Regions from separate parts of the Homo sapiens genome. Here region 1 is linked to region 2. Evidence: promoter capture Hi-C in 16 types of primary human blood cells and fetal thymus (Javierre and others, 2016). All regions are on one chromosome and are shown on one strand. The core of a region is centred on a gene start or on the middle of the fragment in contact, and the rest is flanking DNA. Distances in the headings are between cores, read along the strand shown. Region 1 overlaps HNRNPH1 (heterogeneous nuclear ribonucleoprotein H1). Region 2 holds the start of RAB24 (RAB24, member RAS oncogene family).

Region 1 (6,772 bases), core at 3,960-6,459, 2.3 Mb after region 2:
GCCTCCCCCTTTGTTTTGTGCAAGTGCTTAATGAGTTACAGGCAGTTCAGATCAGGTCCTGTGCAGCCAAATGACATACAGCCCTTCCACCAGGGCCCCAAAGACGAGTTTACCTTCAGTTGCACTGGAGGGAAGACTGAAGACATCTACGCAACAGCCTCAACTGCCAAGCCAGAGATGTGGCCCTAGGCCCCAGGTGGGCACAGAGCACCAAGACTCAGTCCACATGACACTGAAGCACAGACAAGACAGAGTGCAGTTTTTAAAAGGAGGATTTATTTGACAAGTTTCACTTAGCGCAATATACCTAAAAGGAAATCACAATACAATGAAAGATTTAAATCAAGGCCTCAGAATTTCATACAAACACCAAGACCAAAATCCTAAGTATTGGTATTGCGTCTCAAATTTTTCCCATTAACTTAAAAAAAAAAAAAGCTTAAACTTACGTGCCTTACAGGTTATTAAATGAAACTAGAATTAACAAACATGCCAAAATGTTTCACTTTTAATAGTAGACACAGCTCCTATATTGTTTTACAAAAAAATAAAAGCATGTCTTTCAACATGCATCCAAAACAGTGTTCAATTTAACGTGGCAAAGGGCAACATTTAACATAATTCAACTGCTTTTACCTAAATACGCTTACTGCTTAAGTACATCCTATAACTAACTTGAGAAAAGCTGGAACTTAAGTTTAACAGTTATAGTTTACTCAGCTTCACTGTTACATCCTAGATGAGTATTGTATTCAAAAATACTGGGCCTTAAGTCTTCATAACAATCCTGATTTCCACTTAGAGTAAGCATAAATCACAAGCTTGTATTGCAGAAACTGTTAAACTGAAGTTTTCTTAAAGAAAAAAAAAAAAAAAAAAAAAAGGTTGACCAAGAGTCAGTGATCAGGATCGATCAATTACATTCCCCATCCACCACTCATACTGGACATGCTAGACAACCCTCCCATTCCGTTCACGCCCATAGATGCACGGCTTCCACTACTGTAGTAGCTGCTGTTCACTGCTCCTTGGTTACCTGCAAAGAGATCAATTTGACAAGTTAGGAGTAATATCAGACTACCAGTCAAATAAAATATAGTATTCCAAGAAAAAGTTTAAAAAGTATACGAGTACAAATGGCTGCTGTCCAAGTGGCGAGACGCATGTTTGGGAAAGGGGAATCCCGACTCCAAACAAGCCTCAATTAACCCCTTTTCTCTGCAGTACCAACTTGCCAGACTCTTGTGCTACCATTTTAACGGATTCTTCAGGATCAACATGAAAAATTAAGTTTAAAGGAAAACTAGTGTTTTTCAAAAATTGCAAAATTACTTCGTATTTTTAAAGCTAAACAAGGCATTTTTAAAAAAAATTTAACATAAACATTCACAATGTGTCCCTCGAATGGCATTTGAGAAAAGGGAGCACAGGGGAAGTCTCTTGCTTTTCCTATTCATGGTGGGCAGGAAGTGAGACAACCAAGCTGGACTAAAGGCAACTCACTGTGCCCAAATGGCAGCCTCCATGGAGTTAAGTCAGAGCCATTGACTGCTATAGAAAGCATTATTACAACATATCAGTATTTGCTATTGGGAATTTATATTTTTTGAGAAAATATTTACCTATGCAATGTTTGATTGAAAATCACTGGAGTTTTCCTGTAAAACTTGGTCTGCAAAAGGATTTTGTAGGGTAAGACTATAATACCAAAATCACCATTCTTTAGACCAATTGAAAAAAAATAAATAAAACCAATCCTAGGTTAACTGACTAATAAATACGATCCTGAACCCAACCACCATTCTACTATTTCAAATTCTCCCTCTGTCTAAAACTGACTTAATGCTAACCAAAAGACAAAAAAGTGAACAACTTTATTTAATGTTTTAATACATGGAGGCAGATATTTTCTGGCTCGACAGTATTCCAAAGCTGCAATGACTAGTTCTTAATTCAAAGAACACTTCCCCCTCCCAATGATTGTTTCTGAAAATTAGCTAGTAAAAACAGTTACATTTGGATTGAAAGCATACATTTCATAACCCAATTTCACCGAAAGGAGCCTGCATCTTCCCAACTAAAGGCACCTGCCTGCGACTTACTCTAAGTACAGTAACAGGCTTTACCATAACTTACTCTAAGTACAGTAATGAACAGGCTTTACCATAACTTACTCTAAGTACAGTAACAAACAGGCTTTACCGTATCCACTCATGCTGCTCTGGCCACCGTAGCCGCCTCCGTAACCCCCACTCAGCTGCTGGCTGGCTGGGCCCCCGTAGCTGGACTGGTTTGCTGTTAAGTTAAGAAAACATTAGAACCTTTTTTCTTATGTGATGTGGTACCTGGTGGTACCGGGCTTGTAATTCTATAGCTATCATTTTCCAGTCTTGATCTTACATTACTGTAACCCTCTGCCTCCTTCTGCCTACTGTCTATAACCAGGCCACCCTTCTATCCATCATTTGAGCCAGTCAAATATTGATAAACCAAAGTGCTAACGGTACACACATCAGCAGGACTAAAATCAACATGATTCCGTAAGTAGAGGCATTTTGTGAAGATCTTATGAAACTGCTTGACTGGATTTAGTGGGTTCCCCCTCAGTTTGATACATCAAAGGCATGTCAATACACCTAATTATGCCCACATTTATCTTAATCCTGTTTTGCTATTGATTTAAACTTTATACTTAGAAAATTTAAGTAGTTTCACTCCGTAGTCCCCTCCCCCAAGACTACTTAAACCTAATTTGAATTATCTATCCTAAGGAACTTCATAACTCACAAGGATTTAAGTAAGCCAGATACAAAACTCAAATATCAAGAAACTGCTTTGCCTAAGTTTCTTATGCTAAACTTATTAAATAAATAGATTAACTTAACTTATAATTGACTTATACAGATATAAACGTTTTGGTTTTTAAAAAAACTAACGATATTTACACAAGCCCATGCCTCCCATCATTTGGCTACCATAAGCACCACCGCTTGCTCCTGCTGTAGAATTCAAGAAGAGTTCTACATATCTGTGTTCTGAAATGAGAGAAAAGGCATACAAGGTTAGCTTAAAAAAAAGACACTAAAGTGATATTTACACAAACCCATGCCTCCTAGCATTTGGCTACCGTAAGCACCACCGCTTGCTCCTGCTGTAGAATTCAAGAAGAGTTCTACATATCTGTGTTCTGAAATGAGAAAAAAAAAGTTTGAAAATGTTTGTTGGTGAAACAAAACAGAATAAGCACTTTTATAAAGTTTTTAAACAAGCAGATCTGTGAACTTCAAATACTTTGGCAAAGAAATTCTAGCTACTTCTCTTAGGTGATCTACTTTAACTCCAAAATCTAGCCTTTACATATTCATCTGTATTGTCAATTAAGGATATACACTTCAAGATGTGCATATCACAAATCCGTTATACTAATTTTTAAAACCCAAACCTTCAACACACTGCCCCCGCATCCCCCAAGAATTAATCTATTACTGGAGAGGAAACTTCTCATATATCCTTATTTTTCCATTTCTCTATTGTAAATGTTAGTCACACAATCACCTGTTAAGAGCCCACAAATGCTCAATCACACTTACGCATATTTGCTTTGTCTTTTGACATAGCTGCCACAGCATCTTCATGAGTTGCGAACTCGACATCTGCTTCACCAGTTACTCTGCCATCAGGACCAATTTCAATGTGTACTCTCACAGGGTTGAGCGGTGAAAAAAACTACAACACAAGGCATTTCAAAGAATTCAACCAACTTTCTAACGTTACAAAAAAAACCTAAAATTTCTAACATAGTGCTCACATTTATAGAATAAGGCTGACTTACTGCCATACTGAAATATTGACTTGTGAGTTCATCTCACACTTACATTATAAATGTCATTCTCAGTAGCTCTGTAAGGTAATCCCCGCATGTGTACACAGTGTCCTGTTGTGCTCTGGAAAGTAGAGCCACCATCCCCGTATCTGTGATCAGACATTCCTGAAAAACAGTAATTGAGGTCTAGATGGACAAGAGTGTAAGCATCCTTCAACTGAGAAATTCAATTCTTACCTTACCTCTTCCAAATCTATCTGACCCAAATCCATAGCCATCATTATAGCCATTGTAATCATCATAGCCTCCATAGCCTGAAAGACAAAGTACAATCAATCAAATAAAACACCTAGACAAAGGAACAGACGACTTGCCGAACCTTACGAATCCTCACGTACCTCCACCATAAGCACCACGCCTCATCCTCTCAAAGCCAGCTCCTCTGCCAATGCTGTTATACCCTCTACCAGCCCCAGGTCTGTCATAAGGACCTGGCCGCTGCATGGCCATAAGCTTTCGTGGTGGATCATAATGAGTTCTAACTTCAGCTCTACTGCTCTTAAAGATTTCAATATACCTAAAGCATTGTTCATAAGGAAGGGGTAGGGAGGGGAGAGAAAACATTAGTTCATTTTATACAGGTATTTAGTTATACAAGAAAACAATCTAGTCATAGCCATGAAACTGACTAATATTTAAAGCCAGATTTCTTATATTTGCATAGGCAATGACCAGAAATTCACTCAATAAATAGTAAGACAATGTAAACTTTATAGAAAAAAAAAAAAAACTCACTCCTCTGAGGCAGAGCCCAACCTTAGGGGTAGAGAGGAGTACTGTAAATAAATGTTTTAGGAGGGAAATAATTCCACTCAACTTTCAACATTTCAAGTCTTAAATCCATTGGCAGCATGTATAGCAAGTGGGCTAAAAAGCCAGCCTCCACCAACAGTCCAGCCCACACTACACATTTCCTTTCGCCAATAAATACCCCAGCCTATGCTTTTAGTAAGAATCAGCATAGGTAAGCGCATGCTTCAATGAAAAATAGTCACAAGCAAAGAGAATAAAACCTTTTGTGACAATTTCTTGAAAGCTATGCTTATTAATACTATGCAGAATATTTATATACAGCAAGAAAAAGTTTGTTGCATTTCAACTTTAAAAACAAGATCAGAAAGTATCACATTTTCTTATGGTAATATTAATTTATTCTAGGTGGGTGTTATTACAGCTAAAGCCAGGTTTGCATTAATTTTTTAAAGCCATAGTCTCTCAACTCTATTGATTGGGGTTAATAAGACTCACAAAATTGTCAAGCAGACCAATTAACTAGGGACAAATTTCAAACCTAAAATTTAGTTTGCGTGTAACGTGGGACTGACACAAGTTTGGAAATCATGGCAAAACATCAATTACCTAGGACTACAAAACATTAATTTCTTCTTTTAAGCAGAGAGAATATGGATTTAATTGTTTACCATAAGAAAAGTGACATATCCAACCAACCATCCATCCCCACCTGTGCCCTATTCTTTCCTTGTGTTTCTTTAGAGCCTTTTCAGCTATTTCCTGTGAAGCAAACTGCACGAAGGCCTCCCCCGTACTCCTCCCCTGGAAGTCCACCGGCAATGTTATCCCATTTGGCACGATTTCCAACCCTTCAACCCAAGGACAAATAACCCCAGTAGGGGGGCAATATTAACATCACAAGCCCAGAAATGATTCTTCTTATAGCTTTAAATAAACCAGAATTTTTAACTTTAGGTGAATGGTATGCTTTCAACAAGTACTCTTTAAATATGCATTGCAATAATATGAAGTTCCATTATTATAAAGTATAACTATTCTTAACACACCCATGGTACAGTATATATTAAAAAAAACTTGCTGAACACAGGATGCATTAAGAATTCAACAACTTAAGAACACATATCTATGCAACTTAATGTTGAGAATTATACAATTCAATTAAGTTTTAAGCATTAAATAACAGTTTTACTAAATTCAAAACACCTTTTACCTCATTTTATATTTCAATGCTTTAAGTTATTGGAACTTCAAGTTTTTAAAAAGGTATACATTTACAACATTTCATATAAAAACTGAAACATTAAATTATAATTGACAAACACAACAATCTAAACTTTCAACAAAACTGATCTACACAGCACAATCATGCATGCTTATGCTCTAACAGTAGTTATGATTCACTTCTGGAAATTCCGTCTATGAAAAATCCTTTCCGTGGATACATTCCCAAGCTTACAAAAAGGACTTAAAGCACTTTCCTAGAAGATATGAAATTATGTTCATATTTAACGTTGACAGCATTCAATTCTCACCAATTTAGTGTCAAAACAAAACAGACTTGATTTTAAAAATTCTGACATTAGGACTCGATACATATATCAATTTTTAACATACTACACTAAACCATGAAAGGATTTCCTGCTTCCAGCGTATCACATCATAAATATTAATACTTAAAATATACGATATCTTATCTAACATTGTTAAACATGCAATCTTATCAGCTCTTCAGCATAAAAACATTCAAATACTTTAGGCCCAGGAACAATTTCAAAACACTTATTTCAGATACTGAGACTACAAGCATTCAAACTACTCTCACTACATCTGATTTTCAGTAAGTTTATACCACACAGGTTAAACCAAGTCTTTCATAAACCGACTTTTGCATTAAAGAGAATTAGACCATTAGATGCTTCTGGTCACATGACCCAAATACGTGTCTCTTGCAACACAGACACTTGCCATAATTTACAACAACCTAATTCATCGCACTGATGATCTGCTGGTAAAGGGATCTTACCTTTAACTTGAGGTACTTAGCTGGACACCAATGTGAGGAAAGTAGTTAAGCTGTTGAGGGCAATCCTCAATGAAAGATCTACTCTGAACTATAATACTAAATATAGGCAAAGT
Region 2 (6,438 bases), core at 3,939-6,438:
TTTTTAAATGTCTGCTTTACCCTGTTACTGAGTTTGAGATGACTTAAATCACTGTGTTGACCCTCTTCTGAACCAAATCTTTAGCATTGATGAAAATAGTTATTTTATTCTTTACATCCTTCACCCCACACTATGGTCAGGGCATGAAACACCCTGTTGATCCCTTCCCAGGCTCGGCACTGTCTGCTCACTGGAGCCGGACTCCCAGGTTGTAATTCTAATGTTGCCTCATGAGAACAGAATGGCAGAAAGTTTAGTCCTGACAGATTCCCCCATAGGGAGTAATGAGGACAGCATGAAACTTGGATAGGTTTTACCCTTAGTCCCTATAAGGTGGATTTTACTAAGGTTTTTTAAATGATACTGTCATCCTCTTGGGGTTTATCAGCCAGGTTAGAGGAGCCCAGTGTCCTAACCTCTCTCAGATCATGGCAGAGAAGGAGCTGCCTCCAGCCCCTTTCTTGCTGAGTTTCATTTGAGCAGTTCCATGTGTAGACATTCCAAGTCACTGCTTGGTAGTTGCTGTGGGAGCCTGTCATTGGCTATGGCCAGTTAGTTCTCAGCTGAGCTTCCTAGGGCCAGTGCAACAGGGCCAGAGGCTGCTATAGTGTAAATTGAAATAAGAATAGATCATTGTTTTGTACACACACACAATAAAATGTAATGATGGTGCTAATTTCACGGTATAAATAAGCACTGCCAAGGGTTGAGGGACTGGCAGCTCAAGAAACCCGGGTTCCTGTTTGGGAGGAGATTTTATGTAGAAAAGTTTGAGGCTTTGTTAAAAGTGGGGAGAAGGAAGATCCTCAGTGAAGCCTGCACCCAACCCTGGAGTGGCCCAGTGCAATCCAGAGGTGGAAGAGATCCTATATCCAGGTGAAGGTGGCCATTGAGTTTCTCAGGGCTGGGGCCACCTTGTCCATAGCCTCCGTCCACGCTGCCTGGAGCAGGTTGTTAGAGAGCTCTGGTTGTTGGGTCTTCCTCAGCTCCCTTCTGCCCCTCTCTACCTCTTCCACTCATGGAAGCCCCTCTACTGCTTATGAAGATTAAGGGTAGTATTTTCTAAGGAAGTGGAAAGAATTAAACTAGAAATCCACAACCTCGGAAGAAGTGTTTCGAGTTTAACATGCGCTGTTTCTGCTTATGTGGTTCCTTCTCTAGAGCTGCTTTCCCATGGCTTTCAAAACATCAGGTTATTGTGGGGCTTCAGGTGTAAGGTCCTGGAAGTTCAGCAAAGTTTCGTGGACAAGACATGGGCACAGAGAGTAGAAGCAGAAATAAATGGTTCTATGTTTTCAACTTCCAGGGTTGGGGCAGGCCAGAGCAAGGCGGTCTCATCGAGGTGGGTGCTACCTGTGTGTGTGTAGATGAGTGTGCTGAAGGTGGGGAGGGCAGCACACAGCAGCTCATGGCAGAGCCGCCTCCTAGGTCTTGGCAAAGAGGCAAGCTGACGATAGACATCTACCTATATTGTTAAGAAAGGGGTCGGGGGGATCAGCCAAGGTCCATCATTGCTTTTTTGCCGCGCCCCCCCCCCCCCGCCCCCATAGATTGTCAGCTGTAAGTGAAACTCCTAGTGAAAAAGAGGGGAGCCCTGTGTTAGGAGTCCCCATAAACATGTACTGTAATTCTTTGTATATAGAAAAAAAATTTACTGTAAAGTAAAGTTTAACTTTACTCATATATGGCCCTTGCCCTGTGTTTTGTTTTATTGGCTGTGGGGAGTTGTAGTCTAACAGGAGGGAGGATTGTTTGGGGTGAGAGCAGAAGCCAGCCCCAGAGATAGTACGAGGTGGGGGGCGGGGGGCGCAGGGATACTGTGAAGCTAAGCCCTTCCTCCAAGCACGTCATGGGAATAGTGTGTTTCCTCTCAGCAGCCACAGGGCTGCCCAAGCCTCTTTCTCCCTCTGTTGGGAGTGGCTGGTTTCAGTTTCAGTCTCCCTCCACAGGAAGCCCCCATCACTCATGAAGGAAGGGCAGTTTGAGGAATTGGTTTTTAAAAAGGAAGTGGAACCAAAGCACTCTCTGAGTGTGAGTCTGACCATGTTGGCTAAGTTGTACATTTTTCCAAGGCAGGTGTTGGCCACTGCAGAGGACTCAGCCCAGGCCTAAATAAAGGCAGGAAAGCAGAGGCAAAGGATAAAACTAAGGGAAAGCCCCTGGCCTGGGGCCACACCCTCCATACCAGAAAGGGCTGCAATAAATTTCCTTCTGGTTGAGCAGCAAGTGTCAGCCCTGTTTACAGTTAACACCTGATTCCTCAGAAATATCTGGATCTTCTTTGGGGAAAACTTGGGAGTTTGCTTCCCTTTGTGACCTAGTCCTGAACTTCCTGCCCTTTCAGCAAAAAGTGCTTGGGAAGATTGGGAAAAACATTTAGTACTAGAGTTACTCTTCACTTTCTTCACAATCCTTGGGCTGCATAGTAGTCACCTTATTTTACAGATGAGAAACTCAAGATGAGGATTTAAGTCCCTTTTCTAAATTAGCAGCTGAATTGGAACCAAATCTGGATCCATTAGACCTTTCTGGCTTACAGAACTTAGGACTTTCCTACCATTAAACCACATTGTAGGATGTCACTGGGAAGCTCAGGACCTGAGTCACAGGTCTGACATAGGGGCCCAAACATGACAGATGCAGTAGAGCTAGTCAGACCAACCTGTCTCAGGTAGGAATGCTTGACCCTTTTATTTCGAAGCAACTCATGCACTCTTTTCAGCACTCAGAAGGAACTGTGAGCTTTTATACTACTACAGCCCCAGTATCTCAGCGGTAACCATGGGGAAAAAAGTCTTGTTTTCCAAAGGAAAATGAGAGTTGGGAGGAGCCTTAATATAAGCAGTGAGGCCAGCCGGGTGGCCCCAGGAAGAACTAGGTGTCTTGACACCTAATCCACACAGCAGGGAAAGGGGCTGGGTGTGATGCACAGTGCACTGATTTTATTTACAGATCAAAAGCCACTTAAATAATCTGCAGACACAAGTGCTGTCCAGGGCAGAAGCCTGGGGTCCAAATCAGCCTTATCCCTCCTCATGCCCACAGTCAGCCCAATGCTGTCTCCGTTCCATGGGCCAGCACAGGCAGGCGCCACTCTGCTGACATGAGGACCTGGGGTAGCTCAGACATTTGACTACCCAAGCCCAGAAAGGAGCTGGGTCCAGCCCTTACGGGGAATTCCTTTAATTCCCCCAGGCCAGGTGAGTGCTGACTCAGTGATGACAACAGCTGTAGAAGTAGGGGTTTGGCTTCTGGCCCAGATCCACGCCCTTGTCCTCTGTCAAAAAGAGAGGTGGCAGCTCAGCACCATTCTGTTGGGATCAGGTAACTCAGGAAAGGGGCTAGATGCTGTGGGCCTAGAGTAAGTCTCCATAAAGGCTGGGGAAGCACACACCTGTCATCACCTGGAAGGCAGCCACACTGACGTAATCCTCTGCCACTTTCTGGAAGAGCTCGTCTGGCAGGAAAAATGATGATCAGCGAGGGCCCAATGCCAGTAGCCCTGGGATCTCCCAGTGACCCAGCCCTCTGTGCCCTATTCAGCTTCCTCTGGTGCCCCTGCATGTTCCTGCTGTGAGGCTCCAGCACAGCACTCACCCACACTCTGGCCTGTCTTGCTGGATGTTTCAAAGAGCTGAGCTTTGATATCTGTAAAGAGAAGTGACTAAAGCCTCATACCTGAGAATTAGATAAACAGACAAAAGGGAGGGCTAGCAGTTCAGGGAGTCTCCTGGACCCCACAGTTCAAGGAGGCCAGGAAGACCTCCTAGAGCACCTTGCCCTGGCAGCCAAGGCAGTCCCTATTTTCTTTGATCCACCCAGACAGCCACACACCCCCACCCCCCAAAGGGCTGAGGAGCAGCTACTGTCTGCATAGTCCTGGACGTCGTGGAAGTCCACACGTCGACGCCTCCGGTCTTCTTCCAGCAGGTCACTCTTGGTGCCACATAAGTAGATTTGGCAGCCCTGAGGCAGAAGACAAGGGTCACCTCCACAGGCCAACAAAACCCCAGCCCCTAGTGTTCTAGTGAGGTCTGTTCACCTACCTCCTCTAGGCTGCGCAGTTCCTTCACCCAGAACTTTGCTCGCTCAAAGCTGCTGCTGTCTGTGAGGTCTTGGTGTGCGGCATGCAGGAGACAACCAAGTGGTCAAGGGCTGTTCTCTGGCTAGCCTGGCACCCATCTTTTCTTGTGAGACAGCCCAAACCCCCCCCCCCCTTACCATAGCAGACGATGGCAGCCTTGGCACCCCGATAGTAGATTCTACTCATGGCCTCATAGCGCTCAGAGCCTGCTGTGTCCTAAAGAGTAAGGCCTGAGTCAAACTTAAGGCCACGTTCTCCAGACCCCGCTATTTTCCAGATAAGGAAACGGGTCTATGAGAAATGGGTCTGTGAGGCCACAAATCAACCAGTAATAGGCAGGACCTACACCTCCTCAGGAATGAGTCTCCCAAGAATAGATGGCCGGGGGACTTACCCAAATACCTAATGTCACAGTCCGGTCTCCGACCGACATCACCTTGGCCACGAAGGCGGCCCCGATGGTCTGCAACGAGAGGGAAGAGATCGGGGCCATAGGTGCAGATTACCGGCCCCCCACTCCCCCGCCCACCGTGCCTGGCCCCTCCGGATGCACTCACGTTCTGATAAGGCCCCACCAGAAAGCGGTCGTGCACGTAGCGCTCCACCAGGCTAGTCTTGCCCACGTACTCCTTGCCCAGCATCACCACCTTGACGTCCACGCGCTGCCCGCTCATGCTCCCGGGGCCGCTTCAGCCACGTCAGGGTCCTGAGCGGGGACGGGAGGCAAACCCCGATCTCCGCTCGGCCCAGGCAGCGCCCAAGCCTCAGACCCCGACCCCAAACGGCGCCAACCTACGACTCCAGACAGCGCGTCGGGCTCGAGCTCTGGCCGTGGCCTTGCACTTCGGCAGCGCCCCGTGTGCCCCCGCTGTTCGGCCCCGGGCGCCGATTATCCTTCGAAGACCCCAAGCCTCGGGGCGGCCTGGGAGCGCGCGGGACAGCGTCCTCAACAGCGCAGCACGCCGCCGTGCAGCTCGCTACTCCGTCATTCGCTCGCCTGCCCGGCTTAAGCTCCGTTCTGGCTGGGAATCCCAACCGAACCTGGGGTCTCCCGCAACCCGGCTCCTACCCGCAGCGCCGCGACTCCCGCGGGAGGGGGCTAGAGGGCGAGGGGGCGGGGCCGCAAGGTCACGTGGCGCGGGCGCCGGAAGCGGTGGCTACTGTGTGGCTGCGCCGGAAGTGGCGCGCGGCCGGACAACTCATGGCGGCGGCGGCGGCGGCGGCAGCTGCTTGGGCGCGGTGCGGTGGTGACTGAGCTACGAGCCTGGCGGCGGGTGTGCGCCGAGCCCCGGCCCGGCCCGGCCCTCGCGTGCCTCCCAGGCTCCGCACCCCTGATGCTGCGCGGGTGCTGAGCCCGCTTCGGCCGGGACGATGGTGAAGTATTTCCTGGGCCAGAGCGTGCTCCGGAGTTCCTGGGACCAAGTGTTCGCCGCCTTCTGGCAGCGGTACCCGAATCCCTATAGGTACGTGGTATTTGGAAGAGCAAAACCGCGCCATCTCGCTATCTGGAGATCGAATTATGGGTAACCCCCAAGTACTGGGACCAGGAAGGACTCGATATCGAATCCTAGGTAGACCTTATCGGGGAAGCGGCCAGGCCAGGCCTGCAAGGTCCTGAAGGGAGGTTGGGCCTGGGTGGTGGTTTACTTGAGACCTTAGTGTAAGATTCTTTTCTCAGTGTGGTGAGACAAGAAGAGGCGGCAGTATGGGAGTTGGGAGGGATCTTGGAGTTGGAAATCCTATTTCTCTGCCCGTGGCGCTTTCCTGGGGTGCAATAAATCATGAGGTCCATTCCTGCTAGAAGGCAGGAATCCAGGTCAGTCAGATGGCGGGAGTGGGAATTTGCCCTGGGATGGGCCCTTAACTCTGGTTTGAACCATAGCACATACCACCCTGCAAGGTTACGGGAAGGCGTGGCCTCTCTAGGCCCGGAGCCTCCAAATGGGAATCCCCTCGGGCAGTCTCTTAGGGGCAAGCTTCTGAGGGTCACCTTCACCCTGACACCTGCAGCAAACATGTCTTGACGGAAGACATAGTACACCGGGAGGTGACCCCTGACCAGAAACTGCTGTCCCGGCGACTCCTGACCAAGACCAACAGGATGCCACGCTGGGCCGAGCGACTATTTCCTGCCAATGTTGCTCACTCGGTGTACGTCCTGGAGGACTCTATTGTGGACCCACAGAATCAGACCATGACTACCTTCACCTGGAACATCAACCACGCCCGGCTGATGGTGAGACACCTCCTGTTGTGATTCTGCACCTCCCCCTCTCCCCTCCCCCCGAGATAGAGAGCTCCTCAGATACATGTGGCTAGAGAGCCATAAGGCAGCTTTTGTGGCCGGAGGCAGG

Evidence for each region. Contacts are between HindIII fragments. The CHiCAGO score rates a contact against its expected background, and 5 or more counts as called.
Region 1: a fragment that was not itself captured here is called in contact with the fragment with the promoter of RAB24 in region 2 in 1 of 17 cell types (non-activated CD4 T cells); the score reaches 5.9 in non-activated CD4 T cells.

What each region holds. Positions count from the first base shown.
Region 1 is chr5:179,613,924-179,620,695 of GRCh38, forward strand. HNRNPH1 (heterogeneous nuclear ribonucleoprotein H1) reads right to left here. Exons shown (of 14, transcript NM_001257293.2): 5 at 5,346-5,484; 6 at 4,222-4,400; 7 at 4,066-4,137; 8 at 3,876-4,009; 9 at 3,591-3,726; 10 at 3,128-3,187; 11 at 2,946-3,035; 12 at 2,203-2,295; 13 at 1,623-1,672; 14 at 255-1,036. The coding sequence ends at 1,623. The region is part of intron 4 of LOC128966623 (a long non-coding RNA gene); the gene reads left to right. Among named protein-coding and RNA genes, the nearest start is that of HNRNPH1, 6.4 kb to the right of the region's middle. The HindIII fragment of the contact is 1,751 bases long and covers 4,335-6,085 here.
Region 2 is chr5:177,298,531-177,304,968 of GRCh38, forward strand. RAB24 (RAB24, member RAS oncogene family) reads right to left here and starts at 5,189. Exons shown (of 8, transcript NM_001031677.4): 1 at 4,642-5,189; 2 at 4,479-4,547; 3 at 4,222-4,300; 4 at 4,047-4,114; 5 at 3,867-3,966; 6 at 3,598-3,648; 7 at 3,395-3,457; 8 at 2,668-3,277. The coding sequence starts at 4,758. The coding sequence ends at 3,213. It overlaps PRELID1 (PRELI domain containing 1), which reads left to right and starts at 5,269. Exons shown (of 5, transcript NM_013237.4): 1 at 5,269-5,547; 2 at 6,095-6,320. The coding sequence starts at 5,456. NSD1 (nuclear receptor binding SET domain protein 1) reads left to right here. Exons shown (of 23, transcript NM_022455.5): 23 at 1-1,683. RefSeq lists enhancers at 2,880-4,079, 5,244-6,121, 5,760-5,859, 5,970-6,019, 6,040-6,099 and 4 more and silencers at 1,857-2,050, 5,080-5,149, 5,200-5,279, 5,390-5,529. The HindIII fragment of the contact is 8,255 bases long and covers 1-6,058 here.